Regions from separate parts of the Homo sapiens genome. Here region 2 is linked to region 1. The links are contacts of gene promoters, found by promoter capture Hi-C in blood cells and fetal thymus (Javierre and others, 2016). All regions are on one chromosome and are shown on one strand. The core of a region is centred on a gene start or on the middle of the fragment in contact, and the rest is flanking DNA. Distances in the headings are between cores, read along the strand shown.

Region 1 (6,079 bases), core at 2,636-5,135:
CTAACATACATTTCTCCCCACTGTAGAAGTGAATATAACACCAACAGTCTACTTTCACTGGGATGTGCATAGTAGTTAAATAGTTAAAGTCTTAGGTACCCCAAGCAGTAAAAACTGACTCAACACAATATGAAGGGAAAGATCTAAATCACATTGTAAATGAGTTATTTATCATCAAGAAGGTTGGTTTGTTAGTTTGGTATTTTTTACGCTTTCAGTACAGAGTTAGATACTGAAAACTACATCATCTAGGCTAGGCACAGTGGCTCACTCCTGTAATCCCAGCACTTTGGAGGCTGAAGTGGGAGGATCCCCTAAGCCCTGGAGTTCAAGGCTTTAGTGAGCTGTGATAGCACTACCGCACTCCTGCCTGGGTGACAGAATGAGAGCCTGTCCCAAAAGGAAGAAAAAAAAAGAAAAGAAAATTAGCCGGGTGTGGTGGTGTCTGCCTGTGGGCCCAGCTACTCAGGGTCCCAGCTACTCTGGAGGATGGGAAGATCGCTAGAGCCCAGGAGGTCCAGGCTGAAGAGAGCTATGATCACACCACTGTACTCCAGCCTGGGTGACAGAGCAAGACCTGGTCTCAAAAAAAAAAAAAAAAAAAAAAACAAAGAGGAAAGAGAGAACACACACAAAAAAAAACCCAACATCAATCCACATTCACTCAGCTTCTGCCTTTAAGTAAAGGCCTAGGGAACAGTAAGACAACTGAAGGAAAAAGAAGCACAGCTAAATTCAAAGTCACCGTAGGGCAGGTGGGGGTGAGGGGTCAGTGTGAAGGGAGAAATTTTCACTTGTATTCTCTTATTATTTTGCAGGTTGAATCACTTTGAGTGAGTATATCACAAATGACTCATCTAAATACTATCTTACTTCAGGCTGGATAACTGTGTGATTATGAATATCTTGGTAATAAATACTGAATGAAAATTACCAACGAGTTGAAACACAATAATATGTTTAACCCTAAAGCCATGTTGAACAGAAGGCCTTTCCTTTAAGGACGCTGATGAAGGAGAACAGTTCAGGTTCACATAGATTTGAAAACATTTCTGGTTATCTGAGCTTGTTGATGGTCTGGATTCTGAGTAAAGGGGAACTTACTTGTATTAAGATGAAGTCATTCAACCAAGACGAGAGTTGGAAGGCACAAATATTTATCAATTTTCCATGAAGACAATGGAAAGATGATCAGGAAATATGTTTTACATGAAAATGTTAAAGATTACAATTACCACATTCTGAAAGGCAACATATAGTACAAATGAACATCAGTAGCTACAGAAAACTAACAATGGTTAACTTATCCAGAAGATGCAGTGTTTTTCTGATTCTCAAGTTATCAGGTTATATTGTTCATAAGGATCTCACAAAGACAGATCCAATTCAAGAGCTTTTTGCATCTCCAAAGATATCCTGCTTGTTCTAAAAACCACAGGAAGCTATTTAAATTAGAATAAAACTTACAATACTTAATTCTGCCCCTAATTATAAATGGCAAAGAGGTAGGAAGGTCAGCTTGAACACCAAAGAAAGAAGACATGTGGGCCTTTTTCCAAAAGCTTCTGGATAGCTAGAATGATCATCCTTTTAAAAGAGAACATCTCTCACTAAAAGACAAAGTTGTTATATTTCTAAACAGCTAAAGAATAGAGATACAGAGATTCCGTGGCCAGAAAAAAGACTGAGTCCGTTTTAATTTTCCTCAATGACTAATTTGTGTCACAAGTACACAGTCCCTAATACAAGTGGGATTTATAAGGTTAAAAAAAAAAAAGAAAAGAAGAGCCTCTCACATCTGCATATTCCCACTGGAACAAGGAATACTGCTGCCTCTCTAGTGTTAAACCTAGCCACTCCACTGCCAAACTGTGAATTCCCCAAGTCCTTCATTTTTATATTATCCAGTGCCCACACGAGAGCCTGGCATATGCTAGGCACTGAATACAGAGAAATGAATGAAAGACTCAAGTGGTAACAGTGAAAACAAAATTGCATTTCCTCCTCCTGTTTAAGGGATTAAACCAAGAGAAAGAGAAGAGAAAAAGACTCAGGAATTGGGAGTATTTAATGAATTTTGCCTAAAACTTCAGTAATTCTCTAGATAAAATGAAATCATGCTAAACCACTTCATTGTTATACATATAAGAAGAAACAAATACGGAAAATTTCACAATTACGAAACCAAGTTGTTTTGAGGTTTATTTGATACTAGCTTCCTACAGCCTCAACTAGCATGTATGATGCTTATAAATTCTGTACAACCAATGAAAAAAAAACTAATTTAAATCATAGTGTGAAAATCAGGAACAAAATACTAATAGTTTGATAAACAACATAACTATTCCTTTCTCTCTCCCTGTGTTGGAGACTTCCTTAAATCAAACAAAACCACAGTTTAGGTGTGCCAGACTATAAAAATCATTGCTGCTTAATGTTAGTTGTGCTTTATATAACAAGCCTTATCTGCTTCTCACAAAAGTTACCACCCAGAGGAAGGTTTATTTGCAAGAATACTATACAATTTTGCAGCAGAATATTAGAGAATGTTCTGGGTGTTACTTCAATAAGAATTTCCAGCAAATCATTTTCTCCTAATACTGTTCTAGTTCAAATCCACCTACTGCTCAGTGGGGAATGGGAGGCTAAATTCTTAAGGCCATTCAGTCTACTTGGGGCGTGAGGGGGTGTGTAGAAAGCCAACAATCAAACGAACACCCTCTCAAGGCCTGGGTGCTTCTCTGAGAGCCAATGATTGCAAAATGAACAATCTTATTAAGATCCCTAATTAGCCCGAATTCAAAAGCAAGGTAGGCATGCTCCTTAGCTGAGCTAAGGATAAAACTTTCCAGGAAAAATTGAGGAGAAGAAGGTGGCAGGGATGATGGGGGCTGGGAGACTGCAAGGCCACAGGCTTGGTGGCTGGAAGATGACAACTATCCTAAAACATTCAAATGCCAAGGGGTGGAAGAGAAACGATGCCAAGTACATGAATAACCGGCAGCTGACCCAGCTGAGTACCAAACTCAACACCATCTCCTGAAGATTTCATGACTTCGCCCCCGCCCCCCATTCGCCCCCCACCCCCCTCGATTGTTAACATGAAAGAAAAACATAAAGAAAGAATACCTGTCACAGCAGGGCGCACCTTTCAACTAAGGAACTCCGGGTGGCTGTGTAGAACCATCCTCACCCTAGAAAGGGGGAAACTGAAAGAAAAAGCAGAACACGCCATTAACAAGGCCAGAACCCCGACTGCCATTCCTGGACGGGAGCCACCAACACCCGCAAAATCGATCGGTACGTACGCCCCGCGGCGCGGTCGGTAGGAATCACAGCCCCGGGCTCCTGAGGCCAACCGTGGCCGTCGGGGCCCGCCAGCGGCCTGTGCCTCAGTCTCCCAATCTGTAAATGGGGTGGGGGGCGGGAGGGGGACAGCGTCCCGCGCGGCTCCCGCCCCAAGTCCTCTCTCCTCTGGGGGTCCCGATGGTGGCGACCCCGCACGCTCCCCGGACTCGCAGCCCTCCCGGGAAGCCTCGGGGGATGGGGAAGCCCCGGTGGGGGGGGGAAACCCGGGCTGACGTCAGCGGGCTCGGCAACCCGCGGGCCCGGCCGGCTCGGGCCCGGGCAACTAACGGGCCGGCGCCGAGGGCCCGATGGTCGCCGCGGCGGCTCCGGACGCCCTGAGGCCAGGCGGCTGCGCCGAGGGGATCCGGCCGCCCGCCGGCCGCCAGCCGCCCGCTCATTCACTAACCTCGGGCGGCGGGGCGTCGCCCCTCGCCCCGGCTCCCCAGCCCGCGTCCCGGGCCGGCCCCGGCTCCCCACACCCACCGCCCTAGTATTTACCTCCGACGCGCGGCCCCCGCGCAGCCAAACCTGCTACCTGGGCCCGCCCCCACCTGCCCCGCCTCCGAACCGCACAGGGAAGAGGGAGGGAGCGGGGGCGGAGGGGGCAGCCGCCGCGCTAGCCAATCGTAGGCCGAGCTGCGCTCCTGAGCGGGCCGTGATTGGGCCTCCCTGTGACAGACCTTCCTCCAATGGCTGCCAGCCCGGCGCCGGCCGAAGGGACTTTCCGCTCTGTCAAGCTCGGTGGAACCAAAGGGAAAGCGAAGGGGCGGGGCAGAGAAGAGCGGCGGATGGAGGCGGGAAGCTCAAGCTGATTGGGCGAAAGGCTGTGGGTGCCGCGTCACCATTGGCTGATGCTGGAGCCGGGGCGGGGCGCTGCGCTGCCACCAGCTCCGCCTCCCGTGCTCCCGCCTCAGCTGTCAAAACTGTAGACGCTTAGGTTTGGGCTGGGTTAAGAGTCCAGATGAAGGTTGAAATAGGATTCCAGGATGCCGTGAGAGAGCAAAGCTTTAGAATCAGACCTCAGTTTGAATCTTTGGCGCTTTCATTCAGTGGCTGCGTGACCTGAGGAAGTCACAACCACGCTGAGCCTCAATGTCCTCATCTGTAAAATGGAGATCATAGTATCGGTTGTCTTACAGGATTGTGGCAAAATACCGAGCTAAAGTTCCTGGCACGCAGTACCAGCTCAGGAAAGGTTCATCTCTTCCTCCTCCGCAGATTCAGCCTGGGACGCTTGCTGTTTCCGAACCTCTGTTGCCACCTATCCCAGTTTGGAGGGAATTTTCCCAAGGATGGTGAAGAAGGGATTTCCACACGCCGCCTCACTCAGCCCCGCACCCCTGGCCACCAGCCAGGACTTAGGGTGTAGTTAAGGATCTTTCAATTAGAAGGGAGGCTTCTGATTCCCAAAAGCACTCAAAATATTTAAGGAAGTGCTTTTTATAATCAGTCCTAGAGCCTTGCTGCACTGGATACTCCTGTTAATTAATTTCTTCTCCTTTGACATTTTAAGTGCTAATTATAGGAGAAGGTGATTAACACTGAGAAAGGAGGAGGGGTGTGTGTGTGTGTGTGTGTGTGTGTGTGTGTGTTTTTAATCATGACACAAATTTCCCCCAGTGGAAAGTGACATGTTTCTGGAGATCCAGGGAATTTAAACCAATGAATACATAAAAACAGTCACATGAGTGATGACTAACAGTAGCAGTAGACAGGCCACCACTCTTCCTTGCCATAGTCATCCAAAATGAAATGAGCATCTTTTGAAAACCTAAGCCTCATTCTACTCCTGTCCCTCTTTTGTCACTCCTATCTTCCTGTTTTCCAGGCTTCATGACCACACTGCTGTAGGAAGCCATAAGTTGGAAATCAACGGGCCTGGCTTGAAGTGTGGCCTTAGGCAACACCGTTCTCATCTACATCTGGATTCTCCAACAAAGCTGGTAGGACTCAGAGGTCACAGTCCAACTGTCTGGAAGAAAATTTCAGCTGAAATTTGTTTTTGCCTAACCCATACGATAAGGAGGAAGGAGAAAAGAATGTGAAGGAGAGAGATTTGGGGTCCTTTTAGGCAAGGCAAACATTCTCATGTTACCACTGGGACCACTTCTCTTATCTGCACGATCTACATCCACTGGTCCCTTAAGGCATCTGAGTTTGCCACTCTGGACTAGAATATTTTCATGTCCCTTCTTTTTGTTTTTGTTGTTGTTGTTGCTGGGGTGTTTGTTTGTTTGTTTCTTTGTTTTGAGACAGAGTCTTGCTCTGTTGCCTAGGCTGGAGTGCAATGGTGCGATCTCAGCTCACTGCAACCTCCGCCTCCCAGGTTCAAGCAATTCTCCTGCCTCAGCCTCCCAAGTAGCTGGGATTACAGGTGCCTGCCACCACACCCAGCTAATTTTTGTATTTTTAGTAGAGACAAGGTTTCACCATATTGACCAGGCTGGTCTCAAACTCCTGACCTCAAGTGATCTGCCTGCGTCAGCCTCCCAAAGTGCTGGGATTACAGGCATGAGCCAATGTGCCCGGCCTATTTTTGTGTCCTTTCTGTTGATGGTGTTTGGTGCTGCTGAGGTCTCTACTTCCATAGGGCTTTCGTCCCCAGGCTCTGTCCTGTCATACGTTCACTGAATCAGTGCCGGGGCCTGACTTCATCTAAGGGATCTTCATCCAAGTCAAGCCTGACAAATGGGGCTTATCTCAATTATCATTTCCTATCAATTGGGAATGG
Region 2 (6,810 bases), core at 3,594-6,093, 2.3 Mb before region 1:
AAGGCCAGGCATGGTGGCTTATGCCTGTAATCCCAGCATTTTGGGAGGCCGAGATGGGCGGGTCACGAGGTCAGGAGATTGAGACCAGCCTGGCTAACATGGTGAAACCCCATCTCTACTAAAAATACAAAAAATTAGCCGGGCGTGGTGGCGGGCGCCTGTAGTCCCAGCTACTGAGGAGGCTGAGGCAGGAGAATGGCGTGAACCCGAAGGCGGAGCTTGCAGTGAGCCAAGATTGCGCCACTGCACTCCAGCCTGGGCGACAGAGCGAGACTCTGTCTCAAAAAAATAAAAATAAAAATAAAAAAATAAAGAAAAAGAAAAAGTATGGCAACCAAAGGGCAGTAGATACAGGGAGACAGAAAAAATGGGGAACCTTTTAGGGCAGTTTTCCCCTAACTTCAGTTATTCAAATATCACCTTCACATTTTGTGTGTGTGTGTGTGTGTGTGTGTGTGTGTGTGTGTGTGTGTGAAATTTATGAGAAGCAGCATAATTCTGCAATTTAGAGCACAAATCTGGAGCAGGACCACCTGGGTTTATTTTCCAGCTCATCACTTCCTAGCTATATAACTTTGGGCACGTTATTTAACTTCTCTATGCCTGTTTGCTCAGTAGTAACATGGGGCAAAGAGTCCCTACCTCAAATAGTACTTAACCCATATTGGTGAGGATTAATTGAATGATTTGAATGACGCATGGAAAGTGCTTAGAAGAGCATCCAGCACTTAGTAAGTACCCAGTAAGTGGTGGGTATTTTATACATATATATTTTTCTAATAAAATTCTTTTATTTTTTATTTTATTTTTTTGAGACGGAGTTTCACTCTTGTTGCCCAGGCTAGAGTGCAATGGCGCGATCTTGGCTCACCACAACCTCTGCCTCCCGGGTCCAAGCGATTCTTCCCTTAGCCTCCCGAGTATCTGGGATTACAGGCATGTGCCTGGCTAATTTTGTATTTTTAGTAGAGATGGGGTTTCTCCATGTTGGTCAGGCTGGTTTCAATCTCCCAACCTCAGGTGATCAGCCCTCCTTGGCCTCCCAAAGTGCTGGGATTACAGGCGTGAGCCATCGCACCCGGCTCCATAAATTTTTATTTTTAAATAATTGGGGTCTTCCTGGAGTGCAGTGGCATGATCATAGCTCACTGTAACCTCGAACTCCTGGGCTTAAACCATCCTCCCACCTCAGCCTCCTGAGTAGCTGGATTACAGGCATGCATCACTACACCCAGGTAATTTTTAAAATGTTTTGTAGAGATGGGGTCTCACTATGTTGCCCAGGCTGGTGTCCAACTCCTGGCTTCAAGTGACCTCCCTGCGTGTACCTCCCAAAGTATTAGGATTACAGGCATGAGCCACTGCACCTGGCCTATTATATTTTATTCTATCCTCATACCATTGATACTCTTATTTAATATTTTTCTTTAAATGGACACACGATTTATATACATTTATTTTAAGGGAAACGTTATATTACTACCATACATGAAAAGCCATGTACAGGTGGAAACTGTAAAGATAAACATAACAGCAAACAATGTTATTAGATTGTTACAGTTTTAACAATGTTATTAAATGGTCACACTTACTGTTGCCTCTTAAATGCCCTGAACTGGAGGACTGCTGTCTTTCCAATGAAAGAGGAGACAATCAAGTGTTACAGTAGCATTCTAGTACTTTGCCCAGACTTCTGTTGGCTGCAGTCAGAAGCAAGAGTCCCAGTCCCACAAGTTGGAGGAAGTGAAAGGCCAGCGTGGGTGGAGCACCTGCTCTGGGGAGAGAGGGCAGCCCCAGGGGTGAGAGGCGGGCAGAGCAGGATCAAAGAGACAGCTCAAAAGGGAAAAATCCCTTTCCCATTCTGAGACTTTGTGCTCTTGGGTACCATGTCTCTCTCTGTGCCACACCAAAGCCATCTCACAAGACCCCTTGTGGTATGAGTTGCACATCTTAGAAAGCAAAGTCAGAAACACTTTGTTGGAGACACTATGGGTGCCCCACCCATACTCCTCAGCTCACCCGAGGTTACCTGCAGACATTTCCAGATGCCCTGGGCTACCTTTCACTTCTGCTTTAAGTTATTTTCTGGCTTCAGGGTGTGCACAGCAGACAGTTAGCAAGACAACCCTCAATAATGAGGTATGAGAGTCGAGGATATACCCCAGTCTCCCTGCCTTTTCGTGGGACACTTCTGAAATATTTTCTATAGTCTCGCTAAGGGTCCCTGAGGGATGGAGACCCAATTGCCCAGTGGTAACTCACTCATCAACACCTTTTTTATTGGCTTTTCTCCCTTTCTCGGTTAATTTCACTCTCACTGGGCTTCCTGGGATCATTTCCGAAATACATTTCTGGCACCTGAATCCTTTTCTCGTGATCTGCTTTGGGGGAAACTACAACTATGACACAGCTTTAAACTTCTGTCAGTGGAATGAGTTGCCCAGTGAGATGTGAAGTTCCATCTTACTGAGGACTCAAGAAATGGCTGACAATGTTCAATGGAGATTCACAGGTCAGGTAAAGACTCAAATCAGATGAACACTTAGTATTCCTTTTGTGTGTCTGTCTTTTTTGTTTGTTTTTTTGTTTTAAAGAGACAGCATCTTGGCCAGGCGAGGTGGCTCATGCCTGTAATCCTAGCACTTTGGGAGGCCAAGGCGGGTGAATCACCTGAGGTCAGGAGTTCGAGACCAGCCTGGCCAACATGGCGAAACCCCATCTCCACTAAATACACAAAAATTAGCCAGGCATGGCAGTGGGCACCTATAATTCCAGCTACTTGGGAAACTGAGGCAGGAGAATCGCTTGAACCCGGGGGGGCGGAGGTTGCAGTGAGCTGAGATCATGCCATTTCACTTCAGCCTGGGCAAAAGAGTGAAACTCCGTCTCAAAAAAAAAAAAAAAAAAAAAAAGAGACAACATCTTGCCCTGTCACCTAGGCTGGAGTGCGGTGGTGCAATCATGGCTCACTATAGTCTCAAACTCCTGGTCTGAAGTGATCCTCCCCCGTCAGCTTCCCAAGTAGCTGGGGCTGCAGGTGCATGCCACCATGCCCAGCTAATTTTCGTTTGTTTTTTGAGACAGGGTCCCCCTCAGTTGCCCAGGCTGGAGCGCAGTGGCATGATCATGGCTCATTGCAACCTCAAACTCCTCAGCTCAATTGATTCGCTTACCTCAGCCTCCTGAGTAGCTGGGACTACAGGTGCACCACCACACCTGGCTAATTTTTCATTTTTTTGTAGATATGGGGTCTTGCTATGTTGCCCAGGCTGGTCTGGAACTTCTAGACTCAAGTAATCCTCCCACCTCAGCCCCCCAAAGTTCTGGAATTACAGGTGTGAGCCACCAATCCAGGCCCCAGCTAATTTTTAAAATTTTTAAAATAGAAATGAGGTCTCACTATGTTGCCCAGGCTGACCTTGAACTCCTGGCCTCAAGCAATCCTCCTGCCTCAGCTTCACAAAGTGCTGGGGCTACAGGCATGAGCCACTGCACCCAACCTACCTAGTATCCTTCTGATCCTCAGGTCTCATTATTCGGGATCAGGAGTCAGCAAACTACAGCCCACAGGCCACATCCAGCCTACTGCCTGTTTTTGTATAGCCTGTGAGCTAAGAATGGTTTTTACATTATTTATTTGTTTGTTTGTTTGTAGAGATGGGGGTCTTGCTATGTTGCCCAGGCTGGTCTTGAACTCCTGGCCCCAAGCAATCCTCCCTCCTTGGTCTTCCAAAGTCCTGGGATCACAGATATGAGCCACCATGCCTGGCCAGCTTTTACATTTTTAAATGGTTGAAAAAAATGTTTAAAGAATAATATTTTGTGACACAGAAAAATTATGTGAAATTCAAAACTTCAGTGTCCATAAAGCTTTATTGGAACCCAGATATACTCATTTGTTTACATACCATCTACGGCTGCTTTTACTCTACAGTGGCAGTTTCTCATCAACATTACAAGAAACGACGTTACTTGGACTTACTGTACGTCATTTCGCTTAAAGTTGCAGTTTCTAAGAACCTAACGAGGACATTAATTGAGAATTTACTGCAGTTGCAACTGAAACCCTATGGTCCATAAAGCTCAAAATATTTACTCTCTGGACCTTTACAGAAAAAGTTTGCTGATGCCTGTTCACGGTCATTATCCTGCAGAGACAAGAGGCAGATTGAGGCCTGGCTGCCCCATGAGTGGGGAGGCCGATGCCCAGACCTAGTATTTGGGGGCAGTTTGAATCAGAACCTCACATTTCCTTTTGCCACATCTTTATGACCATGGTCATTACTCCCACCCTCTGCAAGTACCTAAGACTCTTTCACAGAGGAATTCATGTCTTTATACCAGTAATATTTTTTGACTAAATTTTTTTTCCATTTTTCTTGTTGTTAAAGATAGAGGTGGGGGTCTCACTATGTTGCCCAGGCTAGTCTTGAACTCTTGGCCTCAAGCATTCCTCCCACTTCTGCTTCCCAAAGTGCTGGGATTACAGGCATATGCCACTGTGCCCAGCCACCAGAAATATTTTTCTTTTTTAAAGGACATGAGAAATTTTCTTCTCCACACCCTGCCACTATCCCACGTGGTTTCATCGACGCTTGATCACTTTCACCACCACTTAGTTACTGATTTCTCCCCAGAACAAACCAAACCTCCAGCCCACGTCCTGAGATTTCTGATCAATACCCAAATGTTGGCCAGGTAAGGTAGATCATGCTTGTAATCTCAGTGCTTTGAGAGGCCAAGGCAGGAGAAACACTTGAGTCTAGGAGTTGGAGACCAGCCTAGGCAACACAGTAAGACCCTACTTAAAAAATTAGCTGGGCATGATGGTGTGCACCTGTAGCCCCAGCTACTTGGCTGGGTGGGAGGATCCCTCGAGCTCAGGAGGTTGAGGCTGCAGTAGCTATGATCATACCACTACAGGAGGCATGGGTGACAGAGCAAGACCCTGTGTCTTAAAAACAACAACAAAAGAAACCAAAAACCAACAAAACAAAACAAAACAAAAAACCCAAATGTCTGGTCAACATTAGATTAAGTTGGAGGGTGGGGGGTGTTGCTGCTTACCAGCAGTGCAACTTTGGGCAAGTCATTTAACAGCATGGAACGTCAATTTCATCATCTCTCAAAGGCGGAAATGATCCTGTCCAACCTGCCAGGATTACCGTGCTAATCGGATGAAATGAGAGCTGCCCACAAGACACTGAGCCGCCTGGCCCCAGCCTCTCTCCCTTTCACCACCACACTCCCTGCCCACTGGCTCTCCTTGAGTCCCCTGGCCTTGCCAAGCTCTTGGCTATCTCTGTACATGCTGACCTTTCTGCCAGAAACATCTTTTTCTAACCCCACCTTCTGCCTGGCAGATCAATGCATAACCTTTGTTTATGTGTGTTTCTGTTTAAAGATACCTTATAGGCCAGGTGCTGTGGCTTGAGCCTGTAATCCTAGCACTTTGGAGGCCAAAGTGGGTGATCACCTGAGGTCGGGAGCTCGAGACCAGCCTGGGCAACATGGTGAAACCTCGTCTCTACTAAAAATACAAAAATTAGCTGGGCGTGGTGGCATGTGCCTGTAGTACCAGCTACATGGGAGGCTGAGGCAGGAGAATCGCTTGAACTCCAGAGGTGGAGACTGCAGTGAGCTGACATCGTGCCACTGCACTCCAGCCTGGGAGACAGAGTGAGACTCCATCTCAAAAAAACAAAAACAAAGACAAAAGACACCTTATTTGATATATATTGTTGATATATATACATATTATTCATTAACACTGAACTCAGCCAACTGCACTATAACTCATGCCTGAACGAAGCTTACCTAACAGACAAGCTTTCTCTGTAAGGCACATCGCAGCCTTCTCATACTTAGGAACACTAGACAGCACGTCAACTGTACACTTGGGGCCATTTCAAACAGCGACATCACAAACAAAAACACACAAACATGCAAAAAATGTGGCACTAAGTACACCACAAAAGGGACACTTGTTTATAGCACAAGAGCTGAAACCAGAAAGCAGCGTGTCCTCCTGTTTGCCCTTGGCTGGAAATGTGCACGTTGGGTGACTCAACTTTTTCACTATTCTACGTGCATCCATATATGACTGTGAAAGTGTCATGGATATTGATTTGGAAGTTACGCAGACATTATTTTTCTTTTTTCTTTCTTTTTTTTTTTTGAGATGGAGTTTCGCTGTTGTTGCCCAGGCTGGAGTACAATGGCGTGATCTTGGCTCACTGCAACTTCCACCTCCCAGGTTCAAGCAATTCTCCTGCCTCAGCCTCCCAAGCAGCTGGGATTACGGGCTCTTGCCACCACGCCCAGCTAATTTTTTGAATTTTTAGTAGAGACGGGGTTTTGCCATGTTGGCCAGGCTGGTCTCGAACTCTTGACCTCAGGTATCCACCCACCTCGGCCTCCCAAAGTGCTGGGATTACAGGCATGAGCCACTGCACCCGGCCTTTTTTCCTCTTTTTTTTTTTAAATGAGCCAAGGTCTCTCTATGCTGTCCAGGCTGGTCTCAAACTCCTTAGCTCAAGTGATTAGGCTGGTGTCAAACTCCTAAATTCAAACTCCTAACCTCACACCTCAGTCTCCCAAAGTGCTGGGATTACAGGTGTGAGCCACCACACCCGGCCACAAACATATTTTTTTAAAAATTCTTTAATTATATAATTTTTAAAATAAAGATATAGGGTCTTACTGTGTTACCCAGGCTGATCTGGAACTCCTAGCCTCAAGTAATCTTTCTGCCTCAGCTTCCCAAAGTACTGGGATTATATGCATGAGCCACCATGCCTGGCCACAAAC

The links. Contacts are between HindIII fragments. The CHiCAGO score rates a contact against its expected background, and 5 or more counts as called.
Region 2: a contact is called between a fragment that was not itself captured here and the fragment with the promoter of CYLD in region 1, in 1 of 17 cell types (M0 macrophages). The highest score is 8.2, in M0 macrophages.

What each region holds. Positions count from the first base shown.
Region 1 is chr16:50,739,892-50,745,970 of GRCh38, reverse strand. It overlaps CYLD (CYLD lysine 63 deubiquitinase), which reads right to left and starts at 3,885. Exons shown (of 19, transcript NM_001378743.1): 1 at 3,847-3,885; 2 at 3,130-3,209. It overlaps CYLD-AS1 (CYLD antisense RNA 1), which reads left to right and starts at 3,224. Exons shown (of 7, transcript NR_184279.1): 1 at 3,224-3,300; 2 at 4,567-4,643; 3 at 5,177-5,291. It overlaps MIR3181 (microRNA 3181), which reads right to left and starts at 3,666; the gene lies at 3,594-3,666. RefSeq lists an enhancer at 3,131-3,230 and a silencer at 3,471-4,070. The HindIII fragment of the contact is 2,791 bases long and covers 1,565-4,355 here.
Region 2 is chr16:53,057,023-53,063,832 of GRCh38, reverse strand. All of the region lies in intron 1 of CHD9 (chromodomain helicase DNA binding protein 9), which reads right to left. Among named protein-coding and RNA genes, the nearest start is that of CHD9, 5.4 kb to the right of the region's middle. RefSeq lists enhancers at 1,618-1,977, 2,238-2,287, 2,398-2,457, 5,755-5,804 and a silencer at 2,982-3,208. The HindIII fragment of the contact is 1,942 bases long and covers 3,873-5,814 here.